Linked DNA regions of Homo sapiens: regions 1, 2, 4, 5, 6 and 7 are each linked to region 3. Evidence: promoter capture Hi-C in 16 types of primary human blood cells and fetal thymus (Javierre and others, 2016). All regions are on one chromosome and are shown on one strand. Each heading gives the region's core, a stretch centred on a gene start or on the middle of the fragment in contact. The rest is flanking DNA. Distances are from core to core; before and after follow the strand shown.

The links. The method cuts DNA at HindIII sites, captures the fragments that hold promoters and counts their contacts. A CHiCAGO score of 5 or more calls a contact.
Region 1: a contact is called between a fragment that was not itself captured here and the fragment with the promoter of CASC11 in region 3, in 1 of 17 cell types (monocytes). The highest score is 5.1, in monocytes.
Region 2: a contact is called between a fragment that was not itself captured here and the fragment with the promoter of CASC11 in region 3, in 1 of 17 cell types (M2 macrophages). The highest score is 6.9, in M2 macrophages.
Region 4: a fragment that was not itself captured here is called in contact with the fragment with the promoter of CASC11 in region 3 in 1 of 17 cell types (fetal thymus); the score reaches 5.2 in fetal thymus.
Region 5: a fragment that was not itself captured here is called in contact with the fragment with the promoter of CASC11 in region 3 in 1 of 17 cell types (megakaryocytes); the score reaches 5.4 in megakaryocytes.
Region 6: a fragment that was not itself captured here is called in contact with the fragment with the promoter of CASC11 in region 3 in 1 of 17 cell types (monocytes); the score reaches 8.1 in monocytes.
Region 7: a contact is called between a fragment that was not itself captured here and the fragment with the promoter of CASC11 in region 3, in 1 of 17 cell types (monocytes). The highest score is 5.3, in monocytes.

The regions. Positions count from the first base shown.
Region 1 is chr8:129,017,334-129,020,889 of GRCh38, forward strand. No RefSeq gene overlaps it. Among named protein-coding and RNA genes, the nearest start is that of LINC00976, 53 kb to the left of the region's middle. The HindIII fragment of the contact is 564 bases long and covers 983-1,546 here.
Region 2 is chr8:129,036,374-129,040,022 of GRCh38, forward strand. No RefSeq gene overlaps it. Among named protein-coding and RNA genes, the nearest start is that of LINC00976, 72 kb to the left of the region's middle. The HindIII fragment of the contact is 7,682 bases long and covers 1-3,649 here.
Region 3 is chr8:127,732,152-127,736,082 of GRCh38, forward strand. It overlaps CASC11 (cancer susceptibility 11), which reads right to left and starts at 1,816. Exons shown (of 4, transcript NR_117102.1): 1 at 1,674-1,816. It also overlaps a transcript of MYC not described here. RefSeq lists an enhancer at 485-986, a cis regulatory region at 566-3,308 and silencers at 1,891-2,010, 3,796-3,931. The HindIII fragment of the contact is 10,989 bases long and covers 1,594-3,931 here.
Region 4 is chr8:129,366,403-129,370,349 of GRCh38, forward strand. CCDC26 (CCDC26 long non-coding RNA) reads right to left here. Exons shown (of 4, transcript NR_130917.1): 3 at 3,905-3,947. Among named protein-coding and RNA genes, the nearest start is that of MIR3686, 120 kb to the right of the region's middle. The HindIII fragment of the contact is 2,545 bases long and covers 1,131-3,675 here.
Region 5 is chr8:129,279,668-129,283,460 of GRCh38, forward strand. No RefSeq gene overlaps it. Among named protein-coding and RNA genes, the nearest start is that of LINC00977, 40 kb to the left of the region's middle. The HindIII fragment of the contact is 1,993 bases long and covers 615-2,607 here.
Region 6 is chr8:128,945,350-128,948,930 of GRCh38, forward strand. No RefSeq gene overlaps it. Among named protein-coding and RNA genes, the nearest start is that of LINC00976, 19 kb to the right of the region's middle. The HindIII fragment of the contact is 1,446 bases long and covers 1,573-3,018 here.
Region 7 is chr8:128,973,452-128,977,268 of GRCh38, forward strand. No RefSeq gene overlaps it. Among named protein-coding and RNA genes, the nearest start is that of LINC00976, 9.4 kb to the left of the region's middle. RefSeq lists enhancers at 1,910-2,755, 2,108-2,884. The HindIII fragment of the contact is 1,301 bases long and covers 1,374-2,674 here.

The DNA.
Region 1 (3,556 bases), core at 15-2,514, 1.3 Mb after region 3:
TGAAGTATGTCAGTTGTAAAGTGACAGCAGAAGCCAGGAATAATACTCAGAAGGGACGATTGAATTAAATGTTAAGTTAAGGAATCACGGTTCAACGGGGTATAGACAGGAAGCATTAATTAAGATGGAGAACCAAAATGTTCAGAAATAGGAGAGCTGGGAGTTAGATTGTGCCAATAAGAAGTAGTCAGGAACAAGTGTCCTGGGTACTTCAAATATCCAGAAGCCACTGAGCTGGAGAAAATCAAGCACATACATAAAAATAATAAGACTTTCTATTTACTGAACACCTACAATTTCACTGGCTCTGCACTAGGCAGTTTATATACACATATATTATCTTCTCCAATGAAATTTGACTTTTCTCTCAACCTCACTCAACCTTATAAAAGTGATACAAATTTAACTATTGATATTTTTCAATTTTCTGGGGGAAATTATTTGAAAATATAGTTCTGAATGATTAAACAGGATGTTTTTACATACACTTACTGCTTTGTCCTACCTACTTGATACTTCAGGCTGTTCACAATTAATCTATCATTATCTTTAGCAAATCTTGAGCACAAGTTCATCATGAAAAAGGAAAATAAAAACAACAGAACATTTACTGTGGTCATGCATCACTTCATTTAGTTATCCCCATATTTCAGCAACGTGGATGGCCTCTGCTCCCCATCCTTCCCTTTACTGTCAGGAAAGCTCAGGCTAAGAGAAATTAAGCATGTCTCAAAGGCTGGACTCTAAAGACTGTATAATTTTTATTACACCAACTCACCAACTTCTCTAATAATAAAATATTCTACCGGTTGAATTCATCAAGAGTTCTAGTTTGTATCGACTTGATTCTCATATATTAAGAGATGCCAAATGTCATTGAATAATCTAAGCATCCTCTCACCAGTTGATAACCAGAAATGCAGTGGTTCTACTTCTCAGCTGAAGTTCATAGAGAGGTAGAGGATACTGTGATGGAAAGCTAAGCTTCTTACACTGTTGCCCTTCAATGTCCATTCTTAGTCTTGTGTGCCATAGACCAATATTTGTTAATAGTTGGCATTTATATAATCTCACCTCTAACCTCAGGGTTTTCTTTAGCAGTAAAATTTTACAATTAAGAATCCACCACTCCCATCCATTCTTATTTCTGCTGCTTCCTGATCAGTTTAAAGGCTTTGCTGGAATTAAAGAAAAGTAGTGCTATTTTAAATTCCAATAATGAAGTTTTAGAATTATATTTCTATTTATTCTCTGTAGCTTGCCTGATGATTGAATTCATCTTTGGGCACATGGAGTGTTTTGATTATTTGTTGGAAAGCTACTAGTAGTTTAGTGAGGTAAGACACTTTTAGTGGATTATTTCTTCAGGCACTAAATAGCACCCTAGAGAACAAAAACAGCTTTAAAGTATCTCATTTCCAAGATGTTTAGATATTGAGGGAATTGGGCTTAGAATTAATTCTTTCCATCCCTGAGAGGTTTCTAGAAAATTCTCTTCCTCATTAGTGAATTAAGTTTTACCCCTTAGAGGTGCATTCTAATTCGAAGCTTCCAGAGATAGTTTATTTTAGGGTAAAGCTTTTGTATGGCTTGTTGGCAAGAAAGACCTGTGTGGAAGTTCCAGTTCTGTCACTTGGTACATTTGGATAACATACACTTAAACTATTTGAGCAGTAATTTTCTAATTTGTAAAATGAGAAGGAGAATACCAAACTCATAAAGCTGTTGAGAAGATTAAATTAGATAAGGTATATGGGATACTTTTCAATATAACTAGAAGAGAAATGTTCAAGGTCAGAGGATTGAGAGGGAATGGTGGTCAAGGGATATTGGAACTCAAGATCTCCTGATGTAATTTTGTATCTCCTACATTAATGGACCCCTTACATCAGGGGCTATTTTCACTGTAAAATGACGTGATCCACCAGTTTACATTTGGCTGATGTTCCTAGGTGTTGTAGGGGTGAAATAGTTCTCTTCTTCCTTCACTAGTCTCTGTCCTTAAGGGTGCGAAATATTACCCAATAGATACATAATATAATTTGTGGTCTCCCCATCACTTACCCTGGTGTTTTAGGAGATATCGTTGCTTCATTCCTAGAATAAATGTAATAATTAATTTCAGCAAGGGTTGAAATGCTATTAGGATTATACACTTGCATCTTTAAATGGTTCAATAGGGCTAAGGAATATGAGAGTTGTAGGAAGTCCCGTGTTGCACTGCCCAGATTCCCTTTCCAGACTGAGGTGCTTTTTCCTCCAAAGACCATGTGTGTTGACTGAGGAGGGCTCATAAATGAGTTCCTTTCTGGAAATTGCCCTCTACTGAAAAAAAAAGTTTTACCCAAAAAGTTAAGCCCACATGCAATAACTGCTTGACGGGTGGCTACAAGGCCTCACCCTATTTCTTCAACAGGGAAACATAATTGCATAAGGTGAATTCATTAACACTGGTATTTATGTCACTTTGTTTTGTTTACTTTCTTGGAATGACTCCCATGTGCTTTATGCTTAACAATACATTGGTGGCCCACAAAATCTTTGAAAAAATTGTCAATTGAGCACAGAAATAGTCTGAAGTTTCCGGGGACTGGACTAGAAGATACCAGGATTATGAGCTGCCCTAATAGGAGGACTGATGGCACCAGAGAAGGTACCCAGGTCACTATGGCAAGTACTTCATTTCAATTACTTAATTGAGGTACTTAAATTCTCCATGTCATGGAGAATTCCCTTGCATGCCATCTTTGAGGAGTGTCCTTTCAAACTCCTTTACCTGGATAACTCTTTGAATATTCTTATCATGAGTCAATGTTTCCAGGGAGTCTTCCATGACTCTCAAAAGCTATAATAATTTCTCCTCTTTTGTGGTATTTATAAGATATAATCATAACTCTTTTGAGATTTATTTCATTATAATTTCAGTCCTAATAGAAGTGCATTCTTATAGCTAGAAACTTGTATCCTCCAAATCATACTGTATGTATGAACATATACATACAATATATGCTCAATCAGTATGTTTTCAATTGAACTAAAATATTAAAAGGCCAACTTGTGTATTTTCATGTCTAATCTAAACTAGATGAGATGAGAACATATCATTTCTGGCTTTACCAAATAGCAAGGAGTTGAGATTTTTGTTTGTTTATTTGTTTGTTTTGTTTTATTTCTTTCTGGAATCCTGTGTTACTATTCTAATAGTATATTTCAGGTAGATGAAACCCATATCTATAAGGTTTTAGAGAGAACAAAGAAGAATTCACCCACTGAGAAATATGCAAGGACATTGATCTGCTCAGTTGAGTGGCTATCACCTTCACAATTCCATAGCAAAACACAGACACCTGAGATCCTTCTGAAACTCACTTTATGACACTAAGAGCCAGTATAAGCTCAAAACTCCCTCTTTTCACTTCCACATTATATAGCAAAAATCTCTACTTTTTCCATTAGAATGTTCATTTACTCACTTCTTTAAAACATTTACATTTTTTTTCCTGTCTAAACATTCTCAGGTCATTTAGTACATTATTCATTTTAATTATGCTGAATT
Region 2 (3,649 bases), core at 590-3,089, 1.3 Mb after region 3:
TAGGATCTATTCCAAGTATGCAAGTTAGTTCAACATTTGAAAATGAAATAGTGAAAATGATGGCATCAAGAGGCTGCAAAAAATTATATCCTCATAATAGATGGAGAAAAAAATTTATTCAATGACATTCAAACAGCCACTTAGGATAAAAACGCTCAGAAAACTAGAAATAAAGGAGGACTTCAACTTGACAAAGAACATCTACAAAAAAGCCTACAGCTAATATTGTATTTAATGGTCATAAACTAGAAACATTCCCTTAAAATCGAGAACAAGCCTAGGATGTCCCCTCTTAGCCCTCGCATTCAACAGTGTACGGCAAGTCCCAGCTAATGCAATAAGAAGAAAATAAACAATAAAAATAACAATAAATACAATATAACAATAACAATGTAATAATAACATAAAAATAATAAAAATAACTGATTGAGAAGGAAATAAAACTATCTTTATTTGCAGATGACGTAATTGTTTATGTAGAAAAATCCCAAGGAATCAACAAAACAACATAAAAAAGAAATTCTAGGAACTAGTAAGCAATTATAGCAAGATTATAGGAAACAGAGTTAATATGCAAAAGTCAATTGCTTTCCTATAAACCAACTAAGAAAAAAAGGAATTTAAAATAAAAAAAATGCATTACCATTTACATTAGCACCCAAGAAAATGAAATACGTAGGTATAAATTTAACAAAATATGTACAAGATCTATATGAGGAAAACTACAAAATTCTGATGAAAGATAACAAAGAACTAACTAAACAAAAAATTATATGTTTCTGGAAAGATTCAATGTTGTTAAGATGTCAGTTTTTCCCAAATTGATGTGTAGATTCAATGCAATCCCAAGCAAAATCCTAGCAAGTTATTTTGTGGAAATCAGTAAACTGATTGCAGAGTTTACATGGAGAGGTAAATGATCCAGAAGCCAACACAATGCTGAAGAAGAACAAGCCAGAGGACTGACACCACCTAACTTCAAGATTTCCTATAAAAATACAGTGATCAAGCCACTGTGGTATTGGTAAAATAATAGACAAATTGATCAATGGAACAGAATGGAAACCCTGAAATAGACCCACTTGGGTACAGTCAACTGATCTTTGACAAAAGAGGAAAGGCAATTCAATGGGGAAAGAATACCCTTTTCAACAGATGGTACTGAAACAACTGGGCATCCATATGCCAAAAAAATAAATTTAGACAGACATTTTATATTTCACAAAAATTAATTCAAATGGATCATAGATCTTTCTAAATGTAAAATATAAACATAAAATTTCTCAAAATAGTATAGAAATGAATTTAAGACAGTCTTGGGTTTGCTGATGGCTATTTAGATACAACACCCAAAATCATGACCCATAAACAAAAAATAATTATTAAGTTGGACTTCATTAAAATTAAAAGCATCTTCTCTGTGACATACACTTTTAAGAGAACAAAAAGCCACAGACTGAGATGAAATATTTGCAAATCACATATCTAATAAAGGACTTGTATCAGAAATATACAAAGAACTCCTAACATTCAACAATAGTGAAACAAACAACCCAGTTAAAAATTTGACAATAGACTTCAACAGATACCACACCAAAGATATACAGAAGGTGATTAAGCATATGTAAAAGATCTTCAATATAACATGTAATTAGAGAATTGCAAATTAAAACAGCAATGAGATGCCATTGCATCACTGTTAGAACAGCTAAAATCAAAGATATTGACAATACCAAATACCTCTGAGAATATGGAACAACAGGAACTCTCATTCATTGCTCGTGGGGAAACAAATTTTGGGAAACAGATTAGCTGTTTCTTACAAAGCTAAACATAAGCATATGCTGTCATTGCTTTTCTAGGTATTTACCTAAATGAATTAAAAATCTAGTGCACACAAAAACCCATACATGAATGCTTATAGCAGCTTTATTAATAGTTATCAAAAATTGAAAGCAACTAAGATGTCCTTCAAAAGGTGAGCAGGTAAACAAACTGTGGTACATCCACACAATGGAATACTATTCAGTGATTTAAAAGAAATGAAGTAACTCTTACACATATTGTGAAATCAAGGAAGTTAGTCTGGAAAACCTACGTACTATGTGATTTCGAGTGCATAACATTCTGAAAAAGAAAACAGGAATGTGATTTTTCCCTCACAGGCTGACATACTCGTGCTCATCCACTCTTAATATTTTGCTTACATAAGAAAAGCAATATCATGATTTGCTAATCATTCACCTAACCCTTAATGTTAATATTTGTTAAGTAGTTTTACATTCAAGAGCATGAGGGATATTTATGTATATATTTAAAATAATGCTTTTATTGGTTTTAGTAATGAGTTTATGCTGGTATCAGAAAACAAATGAGAAAGTATTCCTACCTGTTTTTTATTTTCTGAAAGAATTTGTGGAAGATTCATACTGCTTTTTCTAATGTATTATATCTAATGTACAATTGACCACTAAAACCATCTGAGCCCAGAGTTGTGTGTGTGAGTATGTATGTGTCCTTGTGTGTGTAATTCTTTAATGGACATAAGGTTACTCAGGTTTTCTGTTTCATTATTTGTCAGTTTTGATTAGTTATATTTGCCAAGGTATTAGTCCATTTCCTCTTGTCAAACTTATTGGTGCAGTTATTAAATAATAATCTTATTCTGTTAATATCCGGAGGATCTATAGTAATAACCCCTCTTTCATTCCAATATTTTTTATCTTTATCAGTTAGCTAACTTTTTATTATTTTTAGTGATTTCTTTAAAGAATCACATCTTATTTTTTCCTCTACTATTTTGGTTTTTATTTGATTGATTTATGCTCATATTTACTTATTTATTTTTACTTACTTGGAGTTTATTTTGCTTTTATTTTCCCCTAATTTCTATGGGTGGGACCTTAGCTCATGGTTTTATTTTTAAATTTTCTTTTGTCTTTTATTTTTATAGATGGGGCCTCACTGTGTTGCACAGGCTTGTCTTAAACTCCTGGGCTCAAGCAATCCTACCATCTAGGTCTCCCAAAGTGCTGGGGTTATAGGTGTGAGTCACCACACTTAGCATGAATATTTTAGACTTTACCCTTCTAATGTATGGACTTATATTTGTCAACTTCTTACTATTCTTTTCTTTATTGTCATCCTTCATTCTTTAGTATATTTTCTTTATAATTCTGTTCAAAGTATTATTTTCATTGTGCTTTGTTCTTTGACTGGTAGATTATTTAGAATTGTTTTGATTAATTTTCAGATATTTGGGGTTTTGTAAGTATCTTACTATTAGTGACTTCAAATTGCATTACATTGTACTCAAATAATACGATTGCATTTTTTTACATTTATTGAGACTTGTCTTGTGGTCAAGCATGTGTTCTTTCTTGATGAACATATATTGTGCATCTAGGTGAGGCATTGTGTTCTACAGGTCTTAATTAGTTTGTACTTGATAGTGCTATTCAGATCATTTCTGCATTTACTGTTTTTTTTTTTTCTAGTTGTCTTATCCATTGCTGAGAGTAAAGTATTAACATTGTCTTCTTTGATTGTGGAATTGTTTATTTATCCCAGGAATTCTATCAATATTTGCTTCAGGTATTTTGAGGCTCTGTTATTTCAGGTATAGTTGTGATTATGATGAATAATGGGT
Region 3 (3,931 bases), core at 566-3,065:
CAGTGAGTCATGATTATTCCACTGCCTTCCAGCCTAGACTACAGGGTGAGACCCTGTCTTAAAAAAAAAATTAAAGAAGAAAAAACTCTCTTTTCTTTTCTTTCTTTCTTCTTCTTCTTTTCTTTTTTTTTTTTTCTTTTTTTTTTTTTAGAGATGGCACGTCACCACATTGCCCAGGCTGTTGTCGAACTCCTGGCCTCAAACGATGCTCCCACTTGAGCCTCCCAAAGTGCTGGGACTACAAGCATAAGCCACCACACACGGCCTTTTCCTTTCTTTTTCTATTTCTCAATGGATTTTTCCAATGGACACGTATCACTTTGGTAGTTATACATGATACTAGTTGTAATCTCAGCCATTTTTCAACCCAGCAAATGTCTATTCTAGGTCAAATATGTCTCAAAAATTACTAAAAGAAAATCAGTTATGTCCTTTAACCTGGCTGAGGTCTGGCTTTGTTTTCTCTCATGTAAAAATGGAGATGGCACAAAACAACTCCAAGCTGTTACTTGAAAGTAACACCTCAGGTGATGTCACCAGCCTGAGGGAGAGTGAGGTTAAGTTCTGAACCCACAGGCATTATATCTGCCTGGGGTTCACATGCCCTACACTGGACTGGCATAATTTGAGAGTCAGATCCGAAGATGTGGTATATCCGCCATCTTTAGCAACTTTCAAAAACTACCCTATGAGGTCAAGCTGGACCTACTTTTGGTTTTGCCATTGTTGTTTGTTTGTTGTTGAGGGTTTTCTTTGAGGGGCGGGGAGTGCATGCCCCTGTGGAGAGCACTCATTTAGCTTCAATTAGAGTAATGCCAAAAGTGCCAGATTCCTGGGAAATCAGCCTACAAGGCTCCTGCGGGAAGGAACCTCCACTGCCAGAAGTCCTTAGGGCATCTAAGTGATCAGACACCGTCAGGGATTCTTTGCCCCGTAAAAACCTACTTGACCAGGGACACGTGCCAGGTAAATTTCCTTCACATTTACTTCAACCTTATTGCATACTCATTTTAGTATTAAAACCTTTAATAAAATGCTCCTATTCCTTCACACTTTTTTTCTATGAGATCTCAAATACCCCTTCTTGCTATTAAAAAAAATCACTTATTATTCACCAGCCCAATATTTTAAAAGTAAAAATAATAAGCCAAGGCCAGGAGCGATGACTCGCACTTGTATTCCCAGCAGTTTCAGAGGCAAAGGCCGAAGGATCGCTTTAACCGAGGAGTTTGAGACCAGCCTGGGCAACATGACCAGACTGCCTCTCTACAAAAAGTTTAAAAAATTAACCGGGTGTGGTGGTGCACTGCACTCCCAGCTACTGGGCTGGGGTATCAGGCTGAGGTAGGAGGTTTGCTTTGAGCCCGGGGGGATCGAGGCTGCAGTGAGCTTTGATTGTGCCACTGCACTCCAGCCTGGGTGACAGAAGGAGACCCTGTCTCAAAAATAATAAGAATAATAATTAATAATAATAGGCCAAACCAAATACCCATCACCTTCTGCTGTGCCTCCCCTTTCCCCAATAAATCCAGTGTCTTGCTTTCAAATTTTGTGGTTAAAAAAGATGATGAGTTTCTAAGACGTGGGGGCTAAAGCTTGTTTGGCCGTTTTAGGGTTTGTTGGAATTTTTTTTTCGTCTATGTACTTGTGAATTATTTCACGTTTGCCATTACCGGTTCTCCATAGGGTGATGTTCATTAGCAGTGGTGATAGGTTAATTTTCACCATCTCTTATGCGGTTGAATAGTCACCTCTGAACCACTTTTTCCTCCAGTAACTCCTCTTTCTTCGGACCTTCTGCAGCCAACCTGAAAGAATAACAAGGAGGTGGCTGGAAACTTGTTTTAAGGAACCGCCTGTCCTTCCCCCGCTGGAAACCTTGCACCTCGGACGCTCCTGCTCCTGCCCCCACCTGACCCCCGCCCTCGTTGACATCCAGGCGCGATGATCTCTGCTGCCAGTAGAGGGCACACTTACTTTACTTTCGCAAACCTGAACGCGGGTGCTGCCCAGAGAGGGGGCGGAGGGAAAGACGCTTTGCAGCAAAATCCAGCATAGCGATTGGTTGCTCCCCGCGTTTGCGGCAAAGGCCTGGAGGCAGGAGTAATTTGCAATCCTTAAAGCTGAATTGTGCAGTGCATCGGATTTGGAAGCTACTATATTCACTTAACACTTGAACGCTGAGCTGCAAACTCAACGGGTAATAACCCATCTTGAACAGCGTACATGCTATACACGCACCCCTTTCCCCCGAATTGTTTTCTCTTTTGGAGGTGGTGGAGGGAGAGAAAAGTTTACTTAAAATGCCTTTGGGTGAGGGACCAAGGATGAGAAGAATGTTTTTTGTTTTTCATGCCGTGGAATAACACAAAATAAAAAATCCCGAGGGAATATACATTATATATTAAATATAGATCATTTCAGGGAGCAAACAAATCATGTGTGGGGCTGGGCAACTAGCTAAGTCGAAGCGTAAATAAAATGTGAATACACGTTTGCGGGTTACATACAGTGCACTTTCACTAGTATTCAGAAAAAATTGTGAGTCAGTGAACTAGGAAATTAATGCCTGGAAGGCAGCCAAATTTTAATTAGCTCAAGACTCCCCCCCCCCCAAAAAAAGGCACGGAAGTAATACTCCTCTCCTCTTCTTTGATCAGAATCGATGCATTTTTTGTGCATGACCGCATTTCCAATAATAAAAGGGGAAAGAGGACCTGGAAAGGAATTAAACGTCCGGTTTGTCCGGGGAGGAAAGAGTTAACGGTTTTTTTCACAAGGGTCTCTGCTGACTCCCCCGGCTCGGTCCACAAGCTCTCCACTTGCCCCTTTTAGGAAGTCCGGTCCCGCGGTTCGGGTACCCCCTGCCCCTCCCATATTCTCCCGTCTAGCACCTTTGATTTCTCCCAAACCCGGCAGCCCGAGACTGTTGCAAACCGGCGCCACAGGGCGCAAAGGGGATTTGTCTCTTCTGAAACCTGGCTGAGAAATTGGGAACTCCGTGTGGGAGGCGTGGGGGTGGGACGGTGGGGTACAGACTGGCAGAGAGCAGGCAACCTCCCTCTCGCCCTAGCCCAGCTCTGGAACAGGCAGACACATCTCAGGGCTAAACAGACGCCTCCCGCACGGGGCCCCACGGAAGCCTGAGCAGGCGGGGCAGGAGGGGCGGTATCTGCTGCTTTGGCAGCAAATTGGGGGACTCAGTCTGGGTGGAAGGTATCCAATCCAGATAGCTGTGCATACATAATGCATAATACATGACTCCCCCCAACAAATGCAATGGGAGTTTATTCATAACGCGCTCTCCAAGTATACGTGGCAATGCGTTGCTGGGTTATTTTAATCATTCTAGGCATCGTTTTCCTCCTTATGCCTCTATCATTCCTCCCTATCTACACTAACATCCCACGCTCTGAACGCGCGCCCATTAATACCCTTCTTTCCTCCACTCTCCCTGGGACTCTTGATCAAAGCGCGGCCCTTTCCCCAGCCTTAGCGAGGCGCCCTGCAGCCTGGTACGCGCGTGGCGTGGCGGTGGGCGCGCAGTGCGTTCTCGGTGTGGAGGGCAGCTGTTCCGCCTGCGATGATTTATACTCACAGGACAAGGATGCGGTTTGTCAAACAGTACTGCTACGGAGGAGCAGCAGAGAAAGGGAGAGGGTTTGAGAGGGAGCAAAAGAAAATGGTAGGCGCGCGTAGTTAATTCATGCGGCTCTCTTACTCTGTTTACATCCTAGAGCTAGAGTGCTCGGCTGCCCGGCTGAGTCTCCTCCCCACCTTCCCCACCCTCCCCACCCTCCCCATAAGCGCCCCTCCCGGGTTCCCAAAGCAGAGGGCGTGGGGGAAAAGAAAAAAGATCCTCTCTCGCTAATCTCCGCCCACCGGCCCTTTATAATGCGAGGGTCTGGACGGCTGAGGACCCCCGAGCTGT
Region 4 (3,947 bases), core at 1,153-3,652, 1.6 Mb after region 3:
AGAATAGAATAGAATAGAATAAAAAATCAACTGCCTGGCTTTAGAAGAGGATACTATACCATGAAGTACTTTATTTCGATTATATATATTTGTATGTATGTGTACACTAGATTGCAAGGTAAAATAAATTTCTTGCTGTGAGTTTCTGTCAAAAACTCACACCACAAAAAAAAGACACCACTTAAGCTGAAGCAGGATGTGAGGTTTGGCCAACTAGTTTCTGTGGAATATGCTGTTAATAGATGTTTCACAAAATAAAATTAACACTAGCAAGTTTTTCTTCTAATATATAATTATATTTTAAGAGCACAAGAACCTAAATACACATATATAATTATGTGACATTGTACTATAAGAAATAATGTGCTTTCCAAAGAATAAGTTGCCTGAGATCCCCTGCTGTGTGACAGAAGGAACTGCTGAAAGCACTGTGTACATGATCATCACAGGTCCCATAATGCATCCTTTCAACACGTCTCAACATATTTTAGTGTTTATTACTCATCGAAAATATATATCCTCAAGAATGACTGTTGATTCTATTAATACTTCATAGTTTTTAAAATATTCTGTGGTCAAATAAGTTTGGGCATTCTATCACACAGCAGGAGATCTAGTTGTTTTAGATTTAGGAAGGACATGAGTGAATATTGAATCACCTCATTTGGAAGTGAGATTACAGAAACCCTGGCCTGTGACACACCTTGCCTAAATAATCATAAAAGCAGGTATCATGTGTTGAGAACTTACCATATGCCTGTTCCTTAGCTAAGCAGTAATACACATTACTTTATTTAATTCTTAAATGGTGGAACAGGCACTCAAGTCCAGGTCTAGCAAATTCCAAGCTGAAGAATAGGGGGACTCTCATACCTCATTCTCCCAATGCCATAAAGAAGGGCACTTCTTTTCTTCTTCACCCCAGTCTCTCCCTCTGCCTCATACTCATTACTCTTTTCTACTTTATTCTACCAAAGACTATGGGCATGAGCCATGCCGGAGCCCCTCCATGCCTGTGGGTAACACACAGACTCTAGGTTGCACATCCAAATAGTCTCAAGTCAGATCCTGAAGTTTATATTTAGAGGAAAAACTAGGAAACCTAGTTTTGGGCTTGGTTTTCAGCCACAAGCTTTATTGAAGACCCTTGAACATTCAGAGTGATGGTGTCATTTTCATCAAGTGGATTGTTTTATTCCCTTTTGGTTTCTTGGGACTATGCTCTATCATTGAGAAGCCAGAAATAGAGGCACAGGTAAGGGCAAAAAACAGTTTTGACCATCATTCTGTGATTTCACAACCAGTCAGTTTCGAAAATACCACAAGTACACTTTGTTCCCTAATCTTAGTGAATTAGAGAAAATAATAATACTTTGAGCCAATGTCTTCAGGGATTTTAAATATCCCGGAGGTATTTATACCAGTCCTTTAAAAAGCAGACACACTAAATATATCTTAAATCATATTGCTTTTCTTGATGTATCATTATTTAAGATAAGTTGATTTATCATTATTTAAGAAATGTTGATTAAGATAAATCAACAAAAGGTGGAAACTGAGTGGAACCTGACAGAGCATATAACACAATCTGCTTATGTTAGAGTTGAAGAAATGGACACTGTAAGTGAGGTGTGATGAAAAGTGTTCCCAGGGCTTTGACATTTCAGTTCTTGGGTCTCTTTGATTCCATCAGTGTAGTGTCTGGCTTTGCCGTAAACTAGCTTGCATATCTTTCAGTTCTTGCAAAGTCCCGATCTCACTTCACATAAATGGGATAGGTGGCTTGGTAAAGCTATATATGTGTGGGTGTGTGTGTGTGTGTGTGTGCGCGCGCGTGCGTGTATGTCTGTGTGTATGGCCCTGAAGGCCAAGAAGAATAGTAAAATGACCTAAATATATTCCTTAGAAAAAAATAATTAAGAAAATATTTCTAGACATATTTTTGCAGCCTTTGTTTGCTTTCAAGGGAGCCCCAGGCAAGAATAGAAATAGAGACAAAGGTGGCTGAAGCTAGGATGAAGGCAGAAAATGCTATTTGAATGAATAGGCCTGGATTCTACTTCAATCCCCACAAGAGGACTGAAGCCAAATTCTGCAAGAGTAAAATGTCTCCTTCTGTTTAGCTAGCTTCTCCAAGGAAGCCAGGGGTGTTACATACGGCCCTCCTATGCTCATAGTGCTGAGGAGCAGGAAAGAGGAAAGAGGAGAAAGGCAGCATGGGGGAGCATTAGTATCTCTCCTAGACATCTTGTAGCCCAAAGAACTGTGCTACTCTCCAGGAGAAAGGGAAATAGTTAGGAGACAACTCTCTAAAACATAATGGATCTGGAAAATCGACAATTCTGTTTTATAATGTCCTAAGTACTGCATTTTGCAACTAGATAGTACTTAAGATAAAACCCATGCACTGTTCTGTGAACTCTCTCAATATGGTGCCCAAGTGCCACGGACTGACTATATTGTCCCCTCAAAATTCATATGTTGAAGTCCCGACCCCCAATGTGACGGTATTAGGAGGTGAGACCTTTGGGATGTGATTAGGTCATGAGGGTAGAGCCCTCATGAATGGGATTAGTGCCCTTATAAAAGATACCCTGGAGAGCTCTGTTTCCCCTTCTGACTTGTGAGTATGCAGCAAAAAGACTGCCATTTAGGAACCAGAAAACACCAGACACCAAATCTGCTGGCACTTTGATCTTGGACTTCCCAGCCTCCACAACTTAAGAAATAAATTTCTGTTGATTATAAGCCACCCAGGGTATGTTACTTTTGCTATAGCAGCCCAGATGGACCAAAGAACCAAGTATCTGCTGCCTAACATTGTTTTTTCTAAGATTACTTTCAATAATCTACATAGAGATCTTCATGAGAACCTTTTTCTGAAACACCAGAAAGCCCTTTAAACTCTAGTCCAGCCTTCCTATTTTACTGAACAGCAAAATGAACCCCAGAAAAGGGATGTGACTGGGCACATCCAGGGACAGAGCTGGGTAGAGACAACAGAGTCTATTCTTTTTTTTTTTTTTTTTTTTTTTTTTTTTTTGAGATGGAGTCTCGCTCTCGCTCTGTTGCCCAGGCTGGAGTGCAGTGGTGCGAGCTCGGCTCACTGAAAGCTCCGCCTCCCGGCTTCAAGCCATTCTCCTGCCTCAGCCTCCCAAGTAGCTGGGATTGTTACAGGCGCCCGCCACCACGCCCGGCTAATTTTTTTGTATTTTTAGTAGAGGTGGGGTTTCACCCTGTTAGCCAGGATGGTCTCGATCTCCTGACTTCATAATTCGCCCGCCTTGGCCTCCCAAAGTGCTGGGATTACAGGCGTGAGCCACCGCACCCGGCCAACAGAGCCTATTCTGCTGTGGTCCCTGGAACTTGCTACACAGCTGCTTGGTCATACTCCATCTTCCTGACATGGAGTTAAGACTTTGTTCTAAGTTGTATTTTTTATTTCTAGTGATCCCTAGTGTTCTAATAGTCCAACACTCTGAAAAACAGGAAAACATTTTTCCTTGTGGTTGCCATGGTTTTTACAGTGGAATAAACAAATTCAGCAGAGAATGTTTAAACAGAGGAGGCCTCTGAATGATGGAAACAATTGGCCATCTATTAATATTTACATTAAGAAAAAGCATATATCAGGTGTGTACTTGATAGAGGGAAACCCGTTTTTGTTAGAACAAAAGCTTAAGTGATACTGATTGACTGGTCAGGAGGAGGAAAGTTTCCTTGACAACTGGCAATAATCACTGTGCCTTCAAATAAAAAACTAGTCTCTTTTCTTTCATCATCTCTTTCTACTTCTTTTTTTAAAGAAATTAATTTAAAGATGATTAGTCCTGACTCAAAAAGTTGGAGAAACCTTTGAAAAGTGAGTAAATATTATTACAAATTTGTGGGTGATTTTTCTTATCTTTCCATTTGGTAATTCTAGGTGATCTGGTTTAGTCAGCATG
Region 5 (3,793 bases), core at 361-2,860, 1.5 Mb after region 3:
CAACCCTTGCTTTCACAGCCAAGAAAACCCAGGTGACTTTTTAAAAATTACCTGAAAGAGTGCTAGAAACAGCAGAACACTCAGAGTCTTATATTAAATTCTGGCTTTTTTTTTTTTTTTTTTTTTTTTTTTTGACAGGGTCTCACTCTGTCGCCTAGGCTGGAGTTCACTGGTGGCGATCTCAGCTCACTGCAACCTCCGCCTCCCAGGTTCAAGCAGTTCTCATGCCTCAGCCACCTGAGTAGCCAGGATTACAGGTGCGTGCCACCATGCCTGGCTAATATTTTGTGTTTTTAGTAGAGACGGGGTTTTGGCACGTTGGCCAAGCTAGTCTCGAACTTCTGACTTAAAGTGATCCATCCGCCTTGGTCTCCCAAAGTGCTGAGATTACAGGCATGAGCCATGGCACCCGGCATGCCTGGCTTTTTTATTGTTTAATTGCAACTCCACATTCTCAAACATAATATGGAGATGAAAAGTCTGTGTTTTCTCCATTATTAGATCTCTTTCCTGGCAGTAGCCCAATCTGAATCTAGTTAACTTAAAAAAAAAAAAAGGAATTTATTGGAGTGCTGACAAAGATCTCACAAAATAAATTGATAGGCTAGTATCCAAGCTTAGAAACAAAGCAAAAATCAGAGTCAAAAATCAAAATAGGATCCAGGCAACAAGAGCCAGTCTATCGTCTCATTAGAGTGCCATACCTAAAATGAAGGTCTCCATTTTTCTCTGCTGTGAGTCACTTGATTCCACACACAAAGTTCTGGGAGAAAGAGTGTGATTGACTCAGCATAGATCAAAACCCCCTGGGCTTCTTTGAAGCAGTGAGAGAAAGAGTCTGGAGGGAGGAGAGTGTACTAGCCTTCAGGGACCTCTAGTTCTCTATTAGAAGGGCAGTGGACATTGATTTATAGTCCCACCGAGAATGTACAAAACAGGGGCTAGTTAGGTCCCTCAAATTAATGGATGCTAGATGGTCATAAATTAACAAATATCCACTCTTTCTACTTCACAAGGCTGTTGAGAATGGAGTAAATTAGACAAAAAACTCTGAAAACTGAAACCCACTATGCAAATATTCATTGCTGTCATTATTACTATTCTTGTTATTAATATCAGAATTTATGAAAAATAAAATATTTTTTAAATTATGGTCATTTTACATTTTGAGGAATCCCCCCCTTTATTAAAGAAATCATTTTATTAAGTATTAAGCACTAAAGTAGTGGCCTGTCTCTCAAATTAATAGTAGACAATGGGTATAAATAATGTTGACAACCAGTAAGTAAAAAACAATTCTCATTTTTACACCAGTTTGGAAGGTCATATTTCATATTATGTGGGCTTTAAAGAGGATCATAGAGAATTAGCCAGTGTAAATTTCTAGACAGAAATCATCACTTAGAAAGGAATTCTTAGCAGAGAGCTTTGAGTGAATGAATAGCTTCAGAGAGAATTACAAAATCCTGAAATTTCACATAACTATTTGGTTTGCTGCATCTAAGAGTATATATATATATTCTCACACACACACACACACACACACACACACACACACACACACACACAGTCAATACCTTTATCAGTTTCAGTTGTTGAAAGATGCATGACCCTAAAAACACCAAGAATCATTAATTTTTAATGCAAAGGGAATTCCTGCAATATCAAATCAAAAATATTTGGATTCAAATTCTGGATATCCACCATAAGTTCAAAACTGTGCTAATCAATGTAAACCATTCTACACCAATGTAAACTCATAAACCATTCTTTATTCTTCAGGAGCTTAGACTCTCACATGAAAGATAAGAATAGGTATGTCAATTAAAATACCTTGGGTTACAAATAGCCCAAATATCCAAACTGAAGTTAGCTTAAACAATATGGAAATGGTTTGTGAAGTTCCTGGGAATAGACATTGAGAGGTGAGGTGGATTTCAGAGTTGGCTGAATGCAATGGCCCTCCTTGAATTACTCTGTGGTGCTCTTGGCTCGGCCTTCCTCTCTGTTTTGGCTTCTTCTTTAGGCTAACATCTCTTGTGGTTACAAAATGGCTACAGATGTCCCAAATTGAGTGGACAAAAATAATATCCATACAACTGCATATCATTCATTGTTCAGCTTTTCCCCACTCAGAGAACCCTGTACAATTAAGTAATCAATACATATCTCTTAATAAAGAAGTGGTTGGATAAATGTATGAAGAGTTAAATAATCATCCATGGCAGGTGTGAGGAAATGAGCATTTTAGAAAAAATACGTAATAGATCAAAGAAAGAAATTATAAGTTGAGGGGACACAGAAAACTTCTAAAGAATCACATGCTTTGAATAGATAAAGGGTAGCAGACATAGCATTCCAGGCATATACAGTTGGCAGCTGGTTTAAAGTAAATAAATTCATAAATGAAAAAAAGAAGATATGCAATTTCAGGGAAACTTTCCATCCATTCCAAGTGGTTTCATATTTTGAGTTGCAACATTAAGAAGTTACTAGGACATTGGAAGTTTCCATGGAAACTTGTATCCTGCAGAATCTCAAATTACCTCATGCAATAATGATCATGACCAACTAGGGTAGTAAGATTAATACATATGATGAAATTGAAGCTTAAAATTTTTCACACAATGAAACCTCATTATATTTTTTATTCTCCACTATTTTTATAGTTCTTTTAAATATTCTTTGAGTGCTTTCCATATGTTGAGCTCTGAGTTAGGTACTTTCAAGTGATTTTTTTTTTTAAACTCACAATAAGGTTATTATCATTATTTTTTACTTTTTACAATTTAACTAACAAATAACCAACTAATAAGTATCAGAGCTGGAATTATACGAATGAATATATATGAGTTAATTTTAACTATTTATATTCTATGTAAAAGACTAAACTACTTTTAACTACACTAAAAGTAACACTTTAAACAGGAGCAAATGTTATAATGATTAAAAATAACTTTAGGCTAGTTACGCGGGAAAATCTACTAGCTATTCCCAGTACCCTTCCTCTAGGCAATTTTTGGATAACAGAAAAACACTTAAAGAATATATGGGCATACCTTGTTTTATTGTGCTTCGCTTTATTGTGCTTCACAGATGTCACGTTTTACAAATTGAAAGACTGTGGCAACCCTGTGCCAAGCAAGTCTATGGGCACCATTTTCCAACAGCATGTGTTTGCATTGTGTCTCTGTGTCACATTGTGGTAATTCTCACAATATTTCAAACTTGTATTATTATTATATCTGTTATGGTGTATTAGTTTATTATCCATTGCTATGAAGAAATACCTAAGACTGAGTAATTTATAAAGAAAAGGGGTTTAATTGGCTCACAATTTTGCAGGCTTTACAGAAAGTACGATGCTGGCATCTGCTGGGCTTCTGGGGAAAGCTCAGGAAACTTACAATCATGGCAGAGGTGAAGGAAGCATGTCTTACATGGCCAGAGCGGGGGAAGGGGGTGGTACCACACACTTTTAAACAATCAGATCTCTCAGTAACTCCCTCACTCAGTATTGCCATGACAACACCAAAGGGAATGGTGTTAAACCATGAGAAACTGCCCCACAATTGAATCACTTCCCAAAAGGCCCCACCTCCAACACTGGGGATTACAATTCGATGTGAGATTTAGGAGGGACACAGATCCAAACCATATCATATGGTGATCTATGATCAGTTATCTTTGATATTACCCTTAGAATTGTTTGGAGCACCACAAATCACTTCCATATAAGACAGTGAACTTATTGATAAGTGCTGTTTGTGTTCTGACTGCTCCACCATCTCTC
Region 6 (3,581 bases), core at 1,046-3,545, 1.2 Mb after region 3:
ACTCAGACACACAGGGGAATGCCATGTGACAGCAGAGGAAAAGATGAGGGTGATGCATCTGTAACTCAAGGATCACCCAGGATTGCCAGAAACCACCAGAAGCTAGGATATGTCTGCCTTAGATCCAGAGTGCACGGTTCTGCCAGTCCCTTGGTTTTAGATATCTAGCCTCCTCACTGTGAAAGAATAAGTTACTATTGTTTAAGCAACAGACCTATATTTTCCTAGTTGCTAAGTGGTCCTGAGACCTCATCCATATATAATGTTTCACTATCATGATTTTTCTGGAAACTATATATCTCCAACCTATTGTACCTTGGACACCTATTCCCAGAATTCCCACAGACACCTCAAACGAAATGCTTTCCTAAGCAAACTCACCATGTAAATAGTTTGAGGTACATCTCTTACACCAGCCTTAGGAAACTAAAGCAGATGATTGCTCTCATTTGAACTGCACTGATCTCTTATCTCTACCTGATGGAAGCCCACCTCTTCTTCAAAGCCCAGCTCAAATACCACCCCAGCAGCTCACTTCAGAGTTACCTACCCATTAGGTTTCCATGTATTTTTATATGTTTATGCCTAAAAATAATAGAAGAGAAACTAACATTTATGTACCACTTTCAAAATTATCTAATGTTGTCTTCCCAACCTGGAAATGCAGATATTATCCTCATTCTAAAAGTGAAGAAAGTGATGGTCAGAGGAGGTAGTAACTCACTTAAGGACCCACAGCCATTTTATGTCCACAGAGAAATCACAAACAGGAGGAGGGTACCTATGCTCTATGAATGCATGTTTGGTGTTCTTCTTACTATCTTTGTCGGTCTTTCTTATCAAGAAAACCTAAACTCCTGGAGATCCTTCTCAGCTGATGGTGGACTCAGGGTAAGCAGTCAAAATACTTTTTCACTATATGGATTTTAACTGGAAGAGAAAGATTTTCTTTTATGTCCCTACTTCATTTCAAGTCCAGAAAGCATCACCAGCATAGATTACAAAAGAGGATAGAGAATCTGTATCTGGGCGGTAATCTGCCTCCCCAGAAAGCCCCATCACCTCTTAAAGATCATGAGGTAAGTAATGAGGAAGGCTGGCTTCCACATTTCAGAGGGAAAAGGATCCCAGAGCTCTAGAATTATTCATAACCTCTCCTGTTTCCACTCCCTATTATAGAACAGATGGAAAAGGATTAGGGCCCACAACAACTTTGTTTGTTGGCATAAATCACCAAAGACACCTGCTATTAGCAATCTCATGGATGAATCAGTGCCTTTTGCCCAGTCAGAAGCATCGCAGATTGAAGTTAATCTCTCTCCCTTTTGCTCTCATTTTTTAAAGTGTCATAGCTTTATCCATAGAATTGCTGGGGTTTTAGCAAAATGTCCTCAGTTTGAGTCTGCTTTTTGAATCATCAGATGCTCTTAGCTCACCTATTTGTCTGAGGGGCCCCTAAACAAAATCAAATGGCAACACCCTGCAAGAACAATACATTTGTTTCCTCTTTCAGGCCAGTTCAATCTGTATCTTTTGCTTTGTGCCTCATACATATCTTTACAAACTGCTGAAAGCTTGGTTTGGAGCTGTTCCCAGCACATGCTGATATTAATCTATGCATTTGTGGTGTGCTCTTCTTGGGCCCTGCTGAAGGAGTATTAACATGAACAGTGTCTGGATGCCTGCCTGGGAAGAAATAAACTTCACTCAAGATCCACCACGTCAAACCTTGGTTTATCATGCTACACCTTAATAATGATGCTCAGAAGGCAAGTTCTTGCTTTCTCCTGATAGAAACCACCAACTGTCTCCCTGTCAGGTAGGACTATGAAACAGGCAGTCTATTTTGGATGATGGCCTTGGTCAGAGCCTTCCTGTCAAGGACCATGTTTGACATGTGATTTTGCTTTGCCACCTCCTACTTAACCTCCAAAGCTCTATTCACTTCCATCATCCTCCAGAAAGCCTCTCTTCACCCTTGGTTAGCACCCAGGGCTGTAAACACCCATGCTCATGCTTACCTCTGTCAATTCCACTGATCTGTAATTACCCATTGCCTTCTCTGTCTCCATTGTAAGATTATTATCACAAATGATATTGCTGGACTCTCAAGTCCCCTGGAATCCCTTTTACCTGAAGGATTGGTGTACCTATTCCTCAATTGCTTGGGGTGTTTCAGCTCAGAACTTTCACTTGCAACTTTCTCCAGAGGATTCCTCTTGATCTTTTGAAAATGCTTCTCCTTGGAGTTTCTGGGGTTGTAATACACCATGACTCCCTCCACTACCACTGACCTTGCCTCAAGTCAGGGCAGATTCTTTGGTGCATCTTATGTTCCAGAAAGCCCCAGAAAATCAGACTTATTTAGACCTTATCTGAGACTACATTCTTATATATCTCCTTCCTCTTTATTTTGTTTCCTCATTCGTTTACCAGCTTCTCCTGAGGGTACTCCTTCAGTTAGTTACATGTGCATGAATCCCCATATCAGGCTCTGCTTCAAGGAAACTAAACCTAAGATAACTTTATAATCTCATGTAATTTTTATAACCCAAGAGACAGGTATTATTATTCCAGCTAAATAAACTGAAGTTTAGGGAGAATAAATAACTGCACAAAGCTATGTAGCAAACACTTGCCTGCCACGCATCAGGTGTTCAGTAAATAGATGTTCAATGAAATAATAATCCCAAACTGCATTGAACATACCCAGTGATCTTGATTCCTGAGACTGGGTATTGGTTCATAATAGAATGAAACAATCTGAGGAAGGTCATGATTTGGAAGCTAGATGGGTCCCTAGGGATAAATGTAAAAAGAGGAAATCCAGATTGGTTTATAGAGAGAAACATCAATAAATGGGTGAAATGTAGTATCAGTGGGGTCAGGAACAGGAAATGAACTTAGAACTTTAGAAGAGGGTAATAGAAATATGACCATAAGATCCACAGTTCTAGAACGGCATTTGAAACCTCCTCATGGCCTCAGCAGGACCTGGAAATGTCCCAACGACAGAGAAGCTTCCTAAGAAACTAAGATAGGGTATTGGGCTCAGATGAATAAAGCAGATACTGTGCTTCTTTAAATGACAGGAACAAAACTTAGTTATCACTGTAGCAATAGTGCTTAGTAGAGCGCCTGACATAGTTGGTGACACTAAATATTTATGCAATAAGCAATTGAATTAATAAAAGTTACACTATAAGGCTGAAGTATATTTGGGGCTTAAGGTAAGAATCTAGTTATGAAAGCTCAGTGACTCTACTACCCAGGACCATCAGTCAAGTTGACTTATTTCAGAGCTTCCTGGTACCTGTGCTAAGTCCTAAAGTTATCCCTGCATAGGAAGTGAATCCAGATCATTTCACTTGTTTGATTCTGCTGAAGAAAGTAAAATAATTTGTGCTCAGGAGACTGGGCTTGGAAGCTAAGTGAGGCATTTCCATGGACAAATCAGTTTCCTTCTCCAGGACTTACCATGGTTCATCTGTTAAGCTAAGCACATGAACCAGATGAACTTTCATAAGATTGTTACTTCTCTATGATGGGTGATGAGTCACTTTTTCGTCCTTTGGAAATGG
Region 7 (3,817 bases), core at 774-3,273, 1.2 Mb after region 3:
CTCTTGGGGTTATGTTCCAGAACAATCTGTGGCCATCTGTCCTTCCTCATTCTTTGGAGGCAGTCTTTCCATGGAAGGGTGACTTTGCTCTGTGGAGTATAGCTGGCACCCAGCCAGCCTACCACCAGGCCCACAGTTATTACTCAAGAACAGCTGTTGCTTCTGGAAGATGACAAGAACTTCTTGTTAAAAACTACTGGGAGTACACAACTACTACCCTTCATAATACAGATGCATTCCTTAATTTTTAAAGCTCCTGTCAATTAGTAAAATGTAATTGTTTTTTATAAATTTTAACTAATATCTTCCACAGTACACTGAAGACGTCTTAGAACAGGAGTTATGTTTCCTGCATATTTATATTTTTAGCCTCTGGCAGACACTTTGTCTGTAGTTATTGCTCAATAAAAATGTTGTAAGAATGCATGAATAATAACAATGTAGCATTTATTTACTGAGAGTATATTATATGCAGAGTAGTAAGTCAAATGCTTTGCATCTATATGTTCTCATTTAATCTGTAAAATAACCCTGTGAAGCAGTTATTATATTCACTTTACAGATGAGAAACCTAAGGCTCAGAAAGCTTGAGTAAATTTGCCATGTTCACACATCTGGAAAAGAGATACAGTTGAGTTCCAAAATGGATCTGTGACGCTGCAAATTTCCATGCTTTTATGCTCTATGTTGTGCTTAAGAGGCCGGGAGCTCCATGCATGAAAAATGGCCCAGACTCAGTTTCCCTGTTCTGAAGTCTACCACCAACTAATTCAGGTAGGGGTCAAACTGACCTGGTTTGTACAAGACTGGCGAGTTTTCTGGAATGGGGGGCTTTCAGTGCTAAAACAAGGAAAGTCCAAGGCATACATGGATAAGCTGGTCACCCCAAATTTAGGGCTAATAAGATAGCACTAAAATGCTCAAGATAAAATTCATTTGATCACTTGCTTTATACCAAAGAAAGTGTAGTGTATAGTTTGTGTGTGTGTGTGTGTGTGTGTGTGTGTGTGTGTGTACAAGCACATTATCATATTGTTAGGCGGAAATGGGACATATTTTCGTGTGTCATTTATTTAAACTCCAAAAGAGCAGCTGGCCTAGACCAGAGCAGAAGCAGCTTCGTTTCTAAGCTGAAATTTAGGTATTCATCCTTGTGTGTTGTAGGATGGGAAAATCACAAGCAAAGATACAGGCATGTTCTTTAACTCACTGCACAGATACATCCAGAATCTCATGCTCCCCAAACTAGGCATGTCCTCCACAATCTACACCCCCAGTACAGGCCCTGCCAGAGGTATAAATATTCATGTAGTCACACATTCATGACTTATACATATTAAATCATTACACATAATCATAAATATGCATATCCAAGCTTTGTTGGATTCATACATTATTTGCACCCTTTCACAGTGGCACACAAAGACATCAAAAGGACCATACACACCCATGTATACACACTTTTAACAGATACTACGTGCATGATGTGATTTATCATTCATGGTCACACAAAACAACACATGCAAAGCAAAATATGTCACCACAGAGACATCCATTGATACATATGTGCATACACACTTTCAGAATACTCAACTGCACATGCTCATCTGCACGGAGCAGACCTTTCCCCACTGTGTTATCCTTACTTCCAGAAGCATTTATGTGAACACTAACATACCCTCCCAAATCCGTATATTTAGTCACACTCAGAGGTGTAAGATCTACACAGATTCAGATTCACACATTTACCTCTGTACATTTGTGTATTACCCCTTCTCTTTTTACTGACTTACATCTATACACACTTGTATCAATGTGCGCACGCACACATACACACACAAACACAAAGAATATACCCTAGGCAAGCTCTTGGATTATTGACAAGGCGGGGTATAAAGTAATAAATAAATAAATATAGCAGTAACAAATAAATAAATACATGCAGACACTGAGGTACACATGTATTTAAACTCTATCTTGGATATATCCATGTATATTGACATACATGCATTGTCTACTTAGGTTCTTTCAATTGGATATGTATTCACCAGATGCACAGACACAAAGAATTCTGGGTCAATCATTTGTTTATATTCCTCACACTGCCCCAAATACCAGAGAGAGCTGGTGGGCCTGTTGCTTTCTCTTTATGTCATCTTCAAGGAAAAGAGGATGTTTATGCCTAGACCACTTGCAAATGATGCTTTGTAAGGCACCACTGCCAGTGAGGTCCCCAGAATTAGCAAGGTTCAGGGGGAAACTGGCCAGGGAGGAATGTTTTTCTACTTAGCCAAAAAGATTCGGCTCCTTTGAACACAGACTTTCTGCTCAGATGTCCTAATGCATTCCACATTTGGCCATTAAATCCTAATTGGAGGCCTGCTGGGGAAGGATGGGAGCCCAGCCTGCCAGCATTTCCTGGGTCACATCCCTGCAAGACCCAGCCTGGCCCCCTGCCCTTGTATGACCTGCCCTTTTGAACTCTTAATCCTACCCCTGGTCACAAAGAATTAGGAGCTCAGTTTACTCCTGAAACCCCAGGAATGTCTCCTTTGGTCTTCCTCTTCTCATCTGTTACCTCTACTCCCCACCCACCTTTCACCCATCCGCACACACACGTACACACTTTGTTTTCCTTTCCTCCTCCTTGGTAAGAGGCAAGATGCTTTGTGGAAGCTTAATGGAAAAACTCCAAAAAACCCGAGCCTTTTATGATAAAACAATTGTCCTTGGTAAATGTCAGGCCTTGTATTTGATGATATTTATGACCTTTTTCTCTATTAGTCTGCCATTTTCCTGAGAAATCATGACCCTGGCTGTGTCAGCCTAGCCACACTAGTTTTATAAATAGTAAATGTATGTGCATGAGAAGGAACTCTCCCTCCACAGCCAAAATGACTATCACATCAGATTCAGAGTATATCCCACTAGGTATCAATGAGCAATTAGAGAGATGAGATGAAGATAAAATAACCTTGAAATGATCACTTTAGAAATCCTGGATGATTCTGGAATTAGAGCTAGTCTTAGCTCTGCCACTTGCTGGGTACGCTACTTTGTACAGGTTGTGGTGCATCTTGGATCTGCAGTATTTTTATCTAGAAAAGAAGAAGAATAATAATACCTTTCTTCTAGAAGTGTTGCTGTAAGAATCAAACAAATGAGCTCTGAAGAAAGTCTTTTGAACAATTGAAACATTAATCAAATATCACTAGATTTAAATGATAAAGGGACCCCCTCTTCATTGATAGGAACTTCAAAGTGAACTAAGACATGGGAATAATGATTGCCCTGAAATCTGCTAAAAACTATTTATCATGGCCAATGGCTACAAAATACAGTAAGATAAATTTGAGTTCTAGCTAATAAATAATTTCCTAAGGTTCAGAACTGTAAGAGGATGAAGAGGGGTTCCTTGGAGACAGTGCTTCCCCTATCCTTTGGGCAATTGCCTGCTGCCCTCTGAGAATATCAGTCTCTGGCTTCCTTCTGCTGCTGCAAGAAGTCAATCCTACTTTCTCACAGATGAACTCTGCTGTGGAAAAAAAGACTTCTTCAGTTACTGAGCCAACCCGGAGAAGTTCAGGACATAAGTCAGTAGCTACCAATGTCCCTGCCCAGGAGGGCTTTGAATTAAAGCACAAGGCTAGACCTGGATCCTGAAGCTGCCATCATCACTGCTGAGCATGACTTGTCTTAAAGAAAATAAAGATCCATGCACATGTATGTTTATTGCAGCACTGTTCACAATAGCAAAGACTTGGAACCAACTCAAATGCCCATCAATGATAGACTTGATAAAGAAAATGTGGCACAT